Regions from separate parts of the Homo sapiens genome. Here regions 2 and 3 are each linked to region 1. Evidence: promoter capture Hi-C in 16 types of primary human blood cells and fetal thymus (Javierre and others, 2016). All regions are on one chromosome and are shown on one strand. Each heading gives the region's core, a stretch centred on a gene start or on the middle of the fragment in contact. The rest is flanking DNA. Distances are from core to core; before and after follow the strand shown.

The links. Contacts are between HindIII fragments. The CHiCAGO score rates a contact against its expected background, and 5 or more counts as called.
Region 2: a contact is called between a fragment that was not itself captured here and the fragment with the promoter of SMIM19 in region 1, in 1 of 17 cell types (endothelial precursors). The highest score is 6.9, in endothelial precursors.
Region 3: a fragment that was not itself captured here is called in contact with the fragment with the promoter of SMIM19 in region 1 in 4 of 17 cell types (megakaryocytes, M2 macrophages, M1 macrophages and 1 more); the score reaches 7.1 in megakaryocytes.

What each region holds. Positions count from the first base shown.
Region 1 is chr8:42,539,813-42,543,093 of GRCh38, reverse strand. It overlaps SMIM19 (small integral membrane protein 19), which reads right to left and starts at 1,509. Exons shown (of 4, transcript NM_001135674.2): 1 at 721-1,509. It also overlaps a transcript of SLC20A2 not described here. RefSeq lists silencers at 1,089-1,508, 1,649-1,928. The HindIII fragment of the contact is 8,293 bases long and covers 459-3,281 here.
Region 2 is chr8:42,471,113-42,474,460 of GRCh38, reverse strand. It overlaps SLC20A2 (solute carrier family 20 member 2), which reads left to right. Exons shown (of 11, transcript NM_001257180.2): 2 at 1,807-2,359. The coding sequence starts at 2,071. Among named protein-coding and RNA genes, the nearest start is that of SLC20A2, 28 kb to the left of the region's middle. RefSeq lists an enhancer at 1-24. The HindIII fragment of the contact is 1,221 bases long and covers 795-2,015 here.
Region 3 is chr8:42,654,415-42,657,614 of GRCh38, reverse strand. No RefSeq gene overlaps it. Among named protein-coding and RNA genes, the nearest start is that of CHRNB3, 41 kb to the left of the region's middle. The HindIII fragment of the contact is 1,230 bases long and covers 1,273-2,502 here.

The sequences.
Region 1 (3,281 bases), core at 260-2,759:
AATTAAGTCTCAAGTAAACAAGAGTATATAAACTTGCCAATATATTACAACTAGGGGTTGGTTTTAGATTGACAAACTTTTAGGATGAGAACTACTTTTTTTTTTTTTTTTACAAAAACAGGGTCTCACTCTGTCACCCAGGCTGGAGGGCAGTGGTGCGATCTCGGCTCACTGCAGCCTCGACGTCCCAGAATCGAGGGATTCTCCTGCCTCAGCCTCCCAAGTAGTTGGGAATACAGGCAAGTGCCACCATGCCTGGGTAATTCTTATTTTTTTTTTTTTAAAGACGGGGGTGGGGTGGGGGTCGTCTCACTATACTGCCCAGGCTGGTCTCAAAACTCCTGAGCTCAGGCAATCCGCCCGCCTCAGCCTCCCAAAGTGCTGGGATTACAGGCGTGAGCCACCGTGCCCAGCCGAGAACTACTTTTTCTAGGGACTAGGTCACTGTATCATAAGCTTTAAAATCTGTGTCGTGATTTTGGGTTCCTGATGTCACGTCTAGGTGATTCTAAAATTGACCACCGCTTGTCATCGTGCCTTGAATGTTATCATTTTTGTCTCTCACTTAGAACTTTGTTACTTTGATACAAATTCACATTGGAACCACTTAGTTCCTAGAGTCCCTTACAACAAAATCCTCTGCATCAAAAAATGGGATTTCTTTCTCTCATCCCTCTGAAACACTAAAGGCTTGGTATTCTGAAGCCAAAGGGTACATACAAGCTCACAGGCCTTCACCCAACATCCAGGAAAGCAATTCACAGGTGCTGGGCAGTCCACAGAGTCACTGAATTATCCCAACAACCCTGCTGGGCGGCACTAAAGCTCCATTTTACAGGAGAAGAAACTGGGGTGGCGGCGGTGGTTATATAACTTGTCCAAAGCCACACAGGCCTGGGCGTGGAGGCGCGGGGCTGTTATACACACGACTCCCAAACCTGAACTCTTCCAGTCTTGGCCCCGATCCTGCGAGACCTGCTCCTTCCGGAAGAAAGTCAAGTGGAGCAGGGAGAAAATGTAATCCTCTCCCAGGAAGCAGCCCGGGTCCCAGGGCGGCGAGGCTCTAGGGACGTTTCCGCCGCCCGCAGGCTGCGCGTGATTCAGCCTCAACCCTCCCGCCGAGCCCCCGCCGCCCCGGCAGATGGGCCGCCGCAACTGGCCCGTGTGCGCTTCCGGAAGCGGGCGACTCGCAGCTCCACGCGACGCCGAGGGGCTCCGCGCCGGGACCGGGCGGGTGCTCGGAGTTTCGGGGACCGCACGGGACCGAGGGCAGGCGGGCGGCCACCCCCCTTACCCCCGCGTCCGGGGCGGGGCGGGCGGCGCGGGGCGGGGCCGGGTGACGCGGCCCCGCCGGGGACCGGGAGAAGCGGGGACGCGGGGCCACTCACGCTGCCGGCTCCGGAGGCGGCACGCGGCCAGCGCTGCTCCGCTCCGGGGCTCTTTACCCCGGAGTCGGGGCCGGGCGCGCGGGAAACGGTTACCGAGCGGACCTGGACGCCCTCTGCCTTCGTCATTTCCTGCCGGCCGGTCGGTTTCCGGATGAAACGAGGAGCCAGGTCTTTTTTTTTTTTTTTTCCTTTCCCCTTTTCAGTTTTTTGAGCCGGAGAGACGCAGCGGCGGCCCCAGTGCCGCCCCCGGGCGCGTGAGTGGAGCCGGGCTCCTTTCCCCTACCGCGCCGCGACCCCCGCCCGGGCTGCGCGCGCCGCCTCCCGCGAGCCCCCGGCCCGACTCCCGGGCTCCCGCGGGTGGGGGCCAGGGCTGGTCGGCGCCGGCGGGGCTCGCGGCGGCGGCGGGTTGCGTCCCCCGCGCCTGCTGGCCCACGTGGACCTGGCCGTCGCTTGCCGTGCGGCGCCTTTGCGAAAACTCGACGGAAGTGGCAGGGACCGGGCATTACCTGCGAGTGCCGGGCGCCTCCTGCTCCGCTGTGCGCGCTTGGGGTGGGACTCGGCGGGGGAGGGGTCGTGTACATTGTCCCACCAGGCGCAATGTAGCCGGGCGGCGCAGAGGATTTCTTTTTTGGTCTTGAGAGCATAGAGTCCCTTTTCATATTCACGTGTACTCTTAAGAAAGCGTCTGTTCTCCAAACTGGCTTTCCATTCTCCCCGTCCTAAATGGTGCGTGGCTGACACCGTAGTGTTTTCAAAACTGGATATGGCCAGGATGCTATAGCATTGTCAGTGTAAGTCCCTTTTGGGTATTTTTATTTAATTGTGTAGTGACTTGACAGAAGTGTTTCCCAGCTTGACCTAAGTAATGAATTTGCATAGGATTTCAGCATCAGTATGGAAGTGATCAGATGTCAGTGGCTGGTGCCACCTTGCAGATAAATGGCCACTGGTCCACGTAGTTCGTCTTTACTATACATTTTGATTAAGTTCTCTAGGACCAGCTGACTGGTAATTATAAGTCACATGAAACCCTGCAGAGATGAGAGCTTACATTGAACACTTCTTAACAAGTTTTCTATTCTTTGTTTCATCTGTTACAATTAAACTCACCTTCGTCTAGGGTAAGACCATTACTTTACGCAATAACATACTAGCTTAATTTACGGTATTTATATGTATTTATATATATTGTATATACATAATCATACATATAATTCTATAACATTTAGTTTGACTCTAAAGTTGGAAAATCAGGAAAATAACAGGTGATGTTGAGTACTGATTGTTTGCCGGGCCTGTGCCAAATGGTGTGCATGCTTTATGTAACTTAATCTAAAAAAATTTGAATACGTGAGTTTGATTTCAGTGTGTCCAAATGTGAAACGTGTACATTATTGTTATTGTTTTGTTTTTTTTGAGACGGGGTTTTGCTCTCGTTCAGGCTGGAGTGCAATGGCACTGTCTTGGCTCACTGCAACCTCCGCCTCCCGGGTTCAAGCGATTCTCCTTCCTTAGCCTCCCAGGTAGCTGGGATTACAGGCGCCCGCCACCACGCCCAGCTAAGTTTTGTATTTTTAGTAGAGACGGAGTTTCACCATGTTGGCTAGGCTGGTCTCGAACTCCAGACCTCAGGTGTTCCGCCCGCCTCGGCCTCCCAAAGTGCTGGGATTACAGGCGTGAGCCACCGCGCCGGGCAAACGTGTGCATTAAATGCTTGTTTATGCCTTTGTAAAATAAGAGTGTTGGCAATATAAAATGTTACCCATAGAGTAAATTAATGTGTTTTTCAAGTTGGAAGATGGCTTTAAAAATTCATAGAAGTACAATTAGTCCCTTTATTTAGGTGCTGAATAGTTTCCAAAGCCCCGTGTCTCTTATTTATCAGAGTTTCTA
Region 2 (3,348 bases), core at 156-2,655, 69 kb after region 1:
ATCTGAATCTCCAAAATTGCAAAGGCTGAAAAATCTTAGAAATGATAACAACTATCAATGTATATTTTCTGTTTCATTGTGTGCCTATAGCATTGCACATCGATGATGCTCAATATGTTTGTAGATTTGTTTATTATATATTATTTTCATTTAAAAAGCATGTAACCACAGTATACAGTTTGGGGAGGAAAGGAAAAAATTGTCTCTAACCTTCCTATTCAACCTCTATTATAATTTTAGTATATACCCCTGGGTATTTTTATGCATTATTATTTTTATTTTTTATTTTTGAGATGGAGTCTCGCTGTGTCGCCCAGGCTGGAGTGCAGTGGCATGATCTTGGCTCACTGCAACCTCTGCCTCCCAGGTTCAAGCGATTCTCCTGCCTCAGCCTCCCAAGTGGCTGGGATTACAAGCATCTGCCACCAGGCCCAGCAAATTTTTGTAGTTTTAGTAGAGATGGGGTTTCACCATGTTGGCCAGGCTAGTCTCGAACTCCTGACCTCAAGTGATTCACCCACCTCGGCCTCCCAGAGTTCTGAGATTATAGGCGTGAGCCACTACACCCGGCCTTTTATATGCATTTTCAACATTGCCATAATCACAGTGTACATAAAATTGTGTGTCCTGATTTTTCCCTTTAAATAACCTTATTGATGGGTCAAATTATTATATTGTATATGGTGTGGTATTTATTCAGTTCAACTCAATAAGCATTTATATGCTTGATACCATTCAAAGAAAATATACAGTGCCTTGGCTCTCCAATAATAGAATACCATAATTACGAAGCTTGCAGTGACATTTTTATTTCATGGATGTATCTCATGGCATCTCCTCTCCCTCCCAGAAGCAGGAACAGTGGCATGGGGGAGGGGCTGCTCCTTCTGGGGTCAGGGAAGTCCTCTCTTAACGGTGATATTTGAGCAGGGACCTGAATGCAGGGAGGAGGGAGCTGTGCAGCTGTGGGGGAAGATTCTTCCTGCAGAGGGATCCTCAGGTACAAAAGCCCTGAGGTGAGAGTGTGCCTGGTCTTTCTAAGGGATTGCAAGGGGACAGTGACACCAGGGCATTGTGAGGGAGGGGAGAGGAGCTAAGGCCAGTGAGCTGCGAGGAGGCCTGAAGGGTCTTCCTGACCCTGGCGGGGCCTCTAGCTTTTCCTCCTAGTGAGATGGGATAGTGGCGTAGTGATAGGATTGCCTCATTCTCCAGGCTTCTCTTTTCCTCTCTGGGGCCTGTCAGTTCCTGCCTTGGTCACCCTCCAGATGAGTGACCTCTCGCCAGGCCTGTAAACTCTCCCAGACACATGCATGATAATATACTGTGCTCATTGCTTATGCGTAAATGTGGAGGTGGGTCGTTGGCCACACCCAGTGGTATCACAGACTCAGATTTGGTTATTGCTGTTCCAGGAAACTGGACACATTCCACATATTTGAAAAGCCATGCAACTAAATTTCTCATTTCTTAATCTTTTGCTCATTTGAGGCACTTGTTCCTCTCTGAAAATAATGACCAAATATGTTTTTCCGATTGCATGAAAAATGTAACCTAGTAAGGATTACTATTAGTCTGTAATTATTAAGCATGCTTCAACTCCTGACAATTCTAGAAAGCAGGTTTTTTTGTGTTTTTGGTTGGGGGTGGTTATCCTAATTATAATCTTCCTTGAATTGCTTTATGGTTAGGTCCGTCACATGCCAAAGTTAGATCCCATTAGCAGGCTTAAAACATTTATTTCTGAAAGAACAAACTGTTACAGGTTGCTGAGTATAATTGATTTCTTTTGTTTCCTTTCTGCTACAGGAGGAGACATCACAGCTTTCCCAGATCGGGAGGAAAAATATGGAATGTGTTTTACCGCTGACTGAACACAACCAAATGAACTGTCCTGACAGTAGTTTGCAAACCAGCAGCTAGCAGTTTGTCCAGCCTCTAACATTGTCCAGCACTTTCCAGAGCAAACTCACTGTTTACAAGAACTCTTGGCCTTACGAAGTTTATAACCTCAAGCTTTGTTTATTTAAAATATTCCTGCAAAAGAAAAGTACCCGGCACCCACTTTCCAAAATGGCCATGGATGAGTATTTGTGGATGGTCATTTTGGGTTTCATCATAGCTTTCATCTTGGCCTTTTCTGTTGGTGCAAACGATGTTGCCAACTCCTTTGGTACAGCCGTGGGCTCTGGTGTGGTGACCTTGAGGCAGGCATGCATTTTAGCTTCAATATTTGAAACCACCGGCTCCGTGTTACTAGGCGCCAAAGTAGGAGAAACCATTCGCAAAGGTATCATTGACGTGAACCTGTACAACGAGACGGTGGAGACTCTCATGGCTGGGGAAGTTAGTGCCATGGTTGGTGAGTAGCCTCTTCTCTATACCGATGGGACATCCGCCCACTGACCCGCTTCCCTGCAGTACTTTGCCCATATCCATAAATGTGATTTTTGCTTTGGCTTTTCAAAAACTGGTTGGATGTTTCACATTTACTCTCTTATTTTTGCTTTCTGCATATTAATTTATGATTTTTAAAGTGTTTAAATATCAGGCAACCATTTATTTTCTGAACTTTTGAGCAAACTTGGTTGCTAAAATAGATTTCAGCTAAGTGAATACTTTTCAGAAAGTACAGAAAAAGACCTTTGTAGAACAGCGCTTTATTATTTTAGAGTTGTTTGAAGGTTGTCTAAGTGAATGTGTTTTCAAGGTTGATGTATGAAATTTCCAGGAAGGTTGATTTAGATTTTTTTCTTAAGGTTTTTCATCAATTAGGAGGCAATGTTTTGAAAACTTGGATGTCAAAAATAATATTTATTAGTCTAACTTTTATATTCACAGTTTAAGTTCTAAAGAAGTTACCAAATAAATCTTAAGTGCGTGTGTTTCAAGAAATTCTGGTCTCTTACATTATTTGTCATCCTTTTGTTGGCTTTTGTTTTGATTTTCTGATTCTACCTCTGGGAGCTCCATTTGGTATGTTTGTTTTGTTTTCCGGCCAAAAAATAATGTGCGTGTTGCCTGGTGATAGCATGACCTTTTATTGCAGTTTCAAGTTGTCTACATGAAGTGTGGAGGTGTGTGAACTGTGTGAATAAGCAGAGTGGCTGGTTGGACAGAGTGATGTCCCCATGGCCTAAGCGGACACAGATCTCGGCCCCGTGGGTCTTCCCATCACTGCCCTCGCTACGACAGAAAAGAACCTTCCCGGCAGGCGTGTGTTAAGTGCAGCTGACAGGATTCTTTTTCTGCTTGCCTCTAGGTAGAGATGACGACACAACAGACAGCTGATGTATACGGGTAATTTGGTTAGGGAGAAGAGGGTTAGAGAGGAATTCTACCACCTTCTGC
Region 3 (3,200 bases), core at 638-3,137, 110 kb before region 1:
AAACAAAACAAAACAAAAACAGAGCTGAGGCCTAATAGCCTTGGAACCCCTTACTCAAGGTTTCTTGGGTTTGCGTTTTTCCCCAGGTGATGGTCACTCATATTGGCTCAGAATAAACCTCTTTAAAATATTTTACAGTTTGTTTTGTCCTTTAACAGAGCTAAATTGTGTCCCCTCCCAATTTATATGTTAAAATTCTTTTTTTTTTTTTTTTGAGACGGAGTCTTGCTCTGCTACCCAGGCTGTAGTGCAGTGGCACAATCTCGGCTCACTGCAATCCACCTCCCGGTTTCAAGCGATTCTCCTGCCTCAGCCTCCCGAGTAGCTGGGACTACAGGGGCCCACCACCATGCCTGACTAATTTTTTGTATTTTTAGTAGAGATGGGGTTTCACCATATTGGCCAGACTGGTCTTGAACTCCTGAGCTCAGGTAATCCGTCGGCCTCCCAGACTGCTAGGATTACAGGCGTGAGCCACTGCGCCCAGCCCCAATTTATATATTAAAATTATAATCCCCAGTACCTCAGAATGTGACTGTATTTGGAGACAAGGCCTTTAAAAAGGTAATTCAGATAAAAGGAGGTCATTAGGGTAAGCCTAATCCAATATGACTGGTGTCCTTACAAAAATGAGGTGGGGACACAGAAACGCAGGGATGGCCCCGTGAGGATGCAGGGAGGAGACAGCCTACAAGCTGAGGAGAGAATCCTCCGAGAACCAACCCCTCTGTCACCTGATCAGGGACTTCCACCCTCAGCACTGTGAGGAAGTTTCCGTTGTTTAAGCCCCTGCCTGCGGTACTTTGTTATGGCAGCTCAAGCAAACCAGGACAGATGCAGTGGCATCCCAGAAGAAAATGAAGTCTTGGGAAAGGAACCTGGAGGTGAATCGGTGTCTCTTTTGAACTTCCTGGTGCAAAGATGGGGTGGCACGCTCCGCCACTGCTCAGCTCGGTGCCAAGCTCCACTCCAGAGAAGCCGGGGGGCAGAGGGAGGGGACAGAGATGCTCACTGCTGCGGTCCATCTACCTTGAGGAGGAAGCCCTGCTTCCTTCTTGCAGCATGTAATTGGGGCTGAGTCACAGTGCCAGTGCCACCCTGCTCAGCCCAAAAAGCAGAGCAGATGGCAGCAGAGAAGAGCAGCAGGAGAGGTTCATTGGCCCCTCTCTGCCTCCAGGAAGGCGCCACACAGAGCAGACTGTCAGGGCGCCCTCATTTGCAGGGCCAGAGCCAGGGCATGGAGAGGGGGCACTCATCTCGGGTATGAAAGCTTAGGGGGCTCCAACAGCTCAGCAGTCAGGATAAATCATCCTTTAATGCAATATTGTTTAAAATCTACATTTATGTAAACAAATCTATGATGAACAAAATGTTTCTGATATTTCCTTTTGCCTCAGGATCCAATGTGGTTAGCACAGAGCTTTTACGGATCCTGTCATTATTTAAAATTGTATTTTTTATCATTTTTTTGCATTAATTTTTATTTTTAAAATTACTGCATTGGCTGGGCGCAGTGGCTCACACCTGCAATCCTAGCACTTTGGGAGGCAGGCAGATCGCCCAAGGTCAGGAGTTTGAGAGCAGCCTGGCCAACATGGTGAAACCCCATCTCTACTAAAAATACAAAAATTAGCTGGGCGTGGTGGCAGGTGCCTGTAATCTCAGCTACTTGGGAGGCTGAAGCAGGATAATTGCTTGAACCTGGGAGGTGGAGGTTGCAGTGAGCCAAGATCATGCCACTGTACTCCAGCTTGGGTGACAGAGCGAGATTCTGTCTCAAAAAAAAAAAAATACTGCATTAAAATATTTGTCTTCAGTTGCATTCACTATATGCATACACACACACACATCACACATTACAAATGAATACAGGTTTAAAAACTGGCCATCTACAGTCTAGTTAACAGTAATGTCCTGATGTCAATTTCCTGATTTTGATTTTGTACTATAAGATGTCATCATTGGGGGAAGTTGGGTATACCAATGTTGCAATTTCCTGTAAGTCTATAATTATTTCAAAATTAAAATTTTTGCAGGAGGGTGTCACACACCTGTAGTCCCAACTGATCAGGAGGCTGAGGCAGAAGGATCCCTTGAGCCCAAAAGGTCGAGGCTGCAGTGAACCAAGATTGCACCACTGCACTTCAGCTTGGGTGACCCAGTCTCTTTTTAAAAATTGAAAATATATTTATTTTATAAATTCCTGAATCTGGGGGCACCCAGGTCAATTTGAGCCCATAGTGGGCATCTTACTTTCCTCTGCTAGTCCTGGCCCTGCGTGTTATGCTCTCAAACAGTGGGGAACATCAGCCAAGACTCTCACCTCGCTCAGCAATGCACAGACACTTAGTTACCCTTGAGCCATCCATAAACCCATCTGGCTGCCCCAGACCTCCTGCTAATTCTGCCCCCAGGAACACGCCTTCCCTGCAAACCGGCCCTTCCCATTTCCGTAAACACCCTGTGTGCAATGTTCAAGCATGAGCAACAATGGGATAAGCTTTTCTTTTCTTCTTCTTTGTTCTTTGACAAGTTCAGTTCAGTTTCAGTGAAAACTACTCAGGGTGTAAACAAATAATGTCACATCTTAAATTTTAGTTATGAGTCAGGGCCTATGGTTTTGACAAGCACCCAGGTGATTCCAGTGTGGAAGCTGAAGAGCCACCCCTTGAGCCAGTTCTTGACTTTGTGCTCACGTTAGAATCTTCTAGGGCAGCATCACCTGGGAACTCATTAGAAATGCAGATTCTTGACTGCGCCCTGAACCTGCTGAATCAGAAACTCTGGGAGTGTGCCCAGCCATCCGTGCTTGCAAAGCCCTCCAGGCAATTCCGATGCTTGCTGAGGTCTGAGGACCACTGATGTAGAACTTTAAAAAAATGGGATGCTTGGATCCACGTCCAGAGATGCCAGTCTCATTGGCTGAGTTACAGTCCTGCTGTCCCACATAAAGTTTCTTGGGTCATTCTACCAATCTCTGGGGTGAGAGTCGCTGCTCCACTGTGTCTTGGTGACCAGCTGAGTCTCTCTTCCTGGTTCTCCAGCATGACTCCTAACTAGTGCTTATGTTTCTTGCAGAGAAACCAAAGATCTGCCCTTAACAACAGTCCAATGAGTTAAGAGGAAATAAAGTGCTTTCAAGAAAATGCCTTTTTAAGCACCCATGGCATCCAGGAGGCCCCTATGCTGTGTATGGTTTG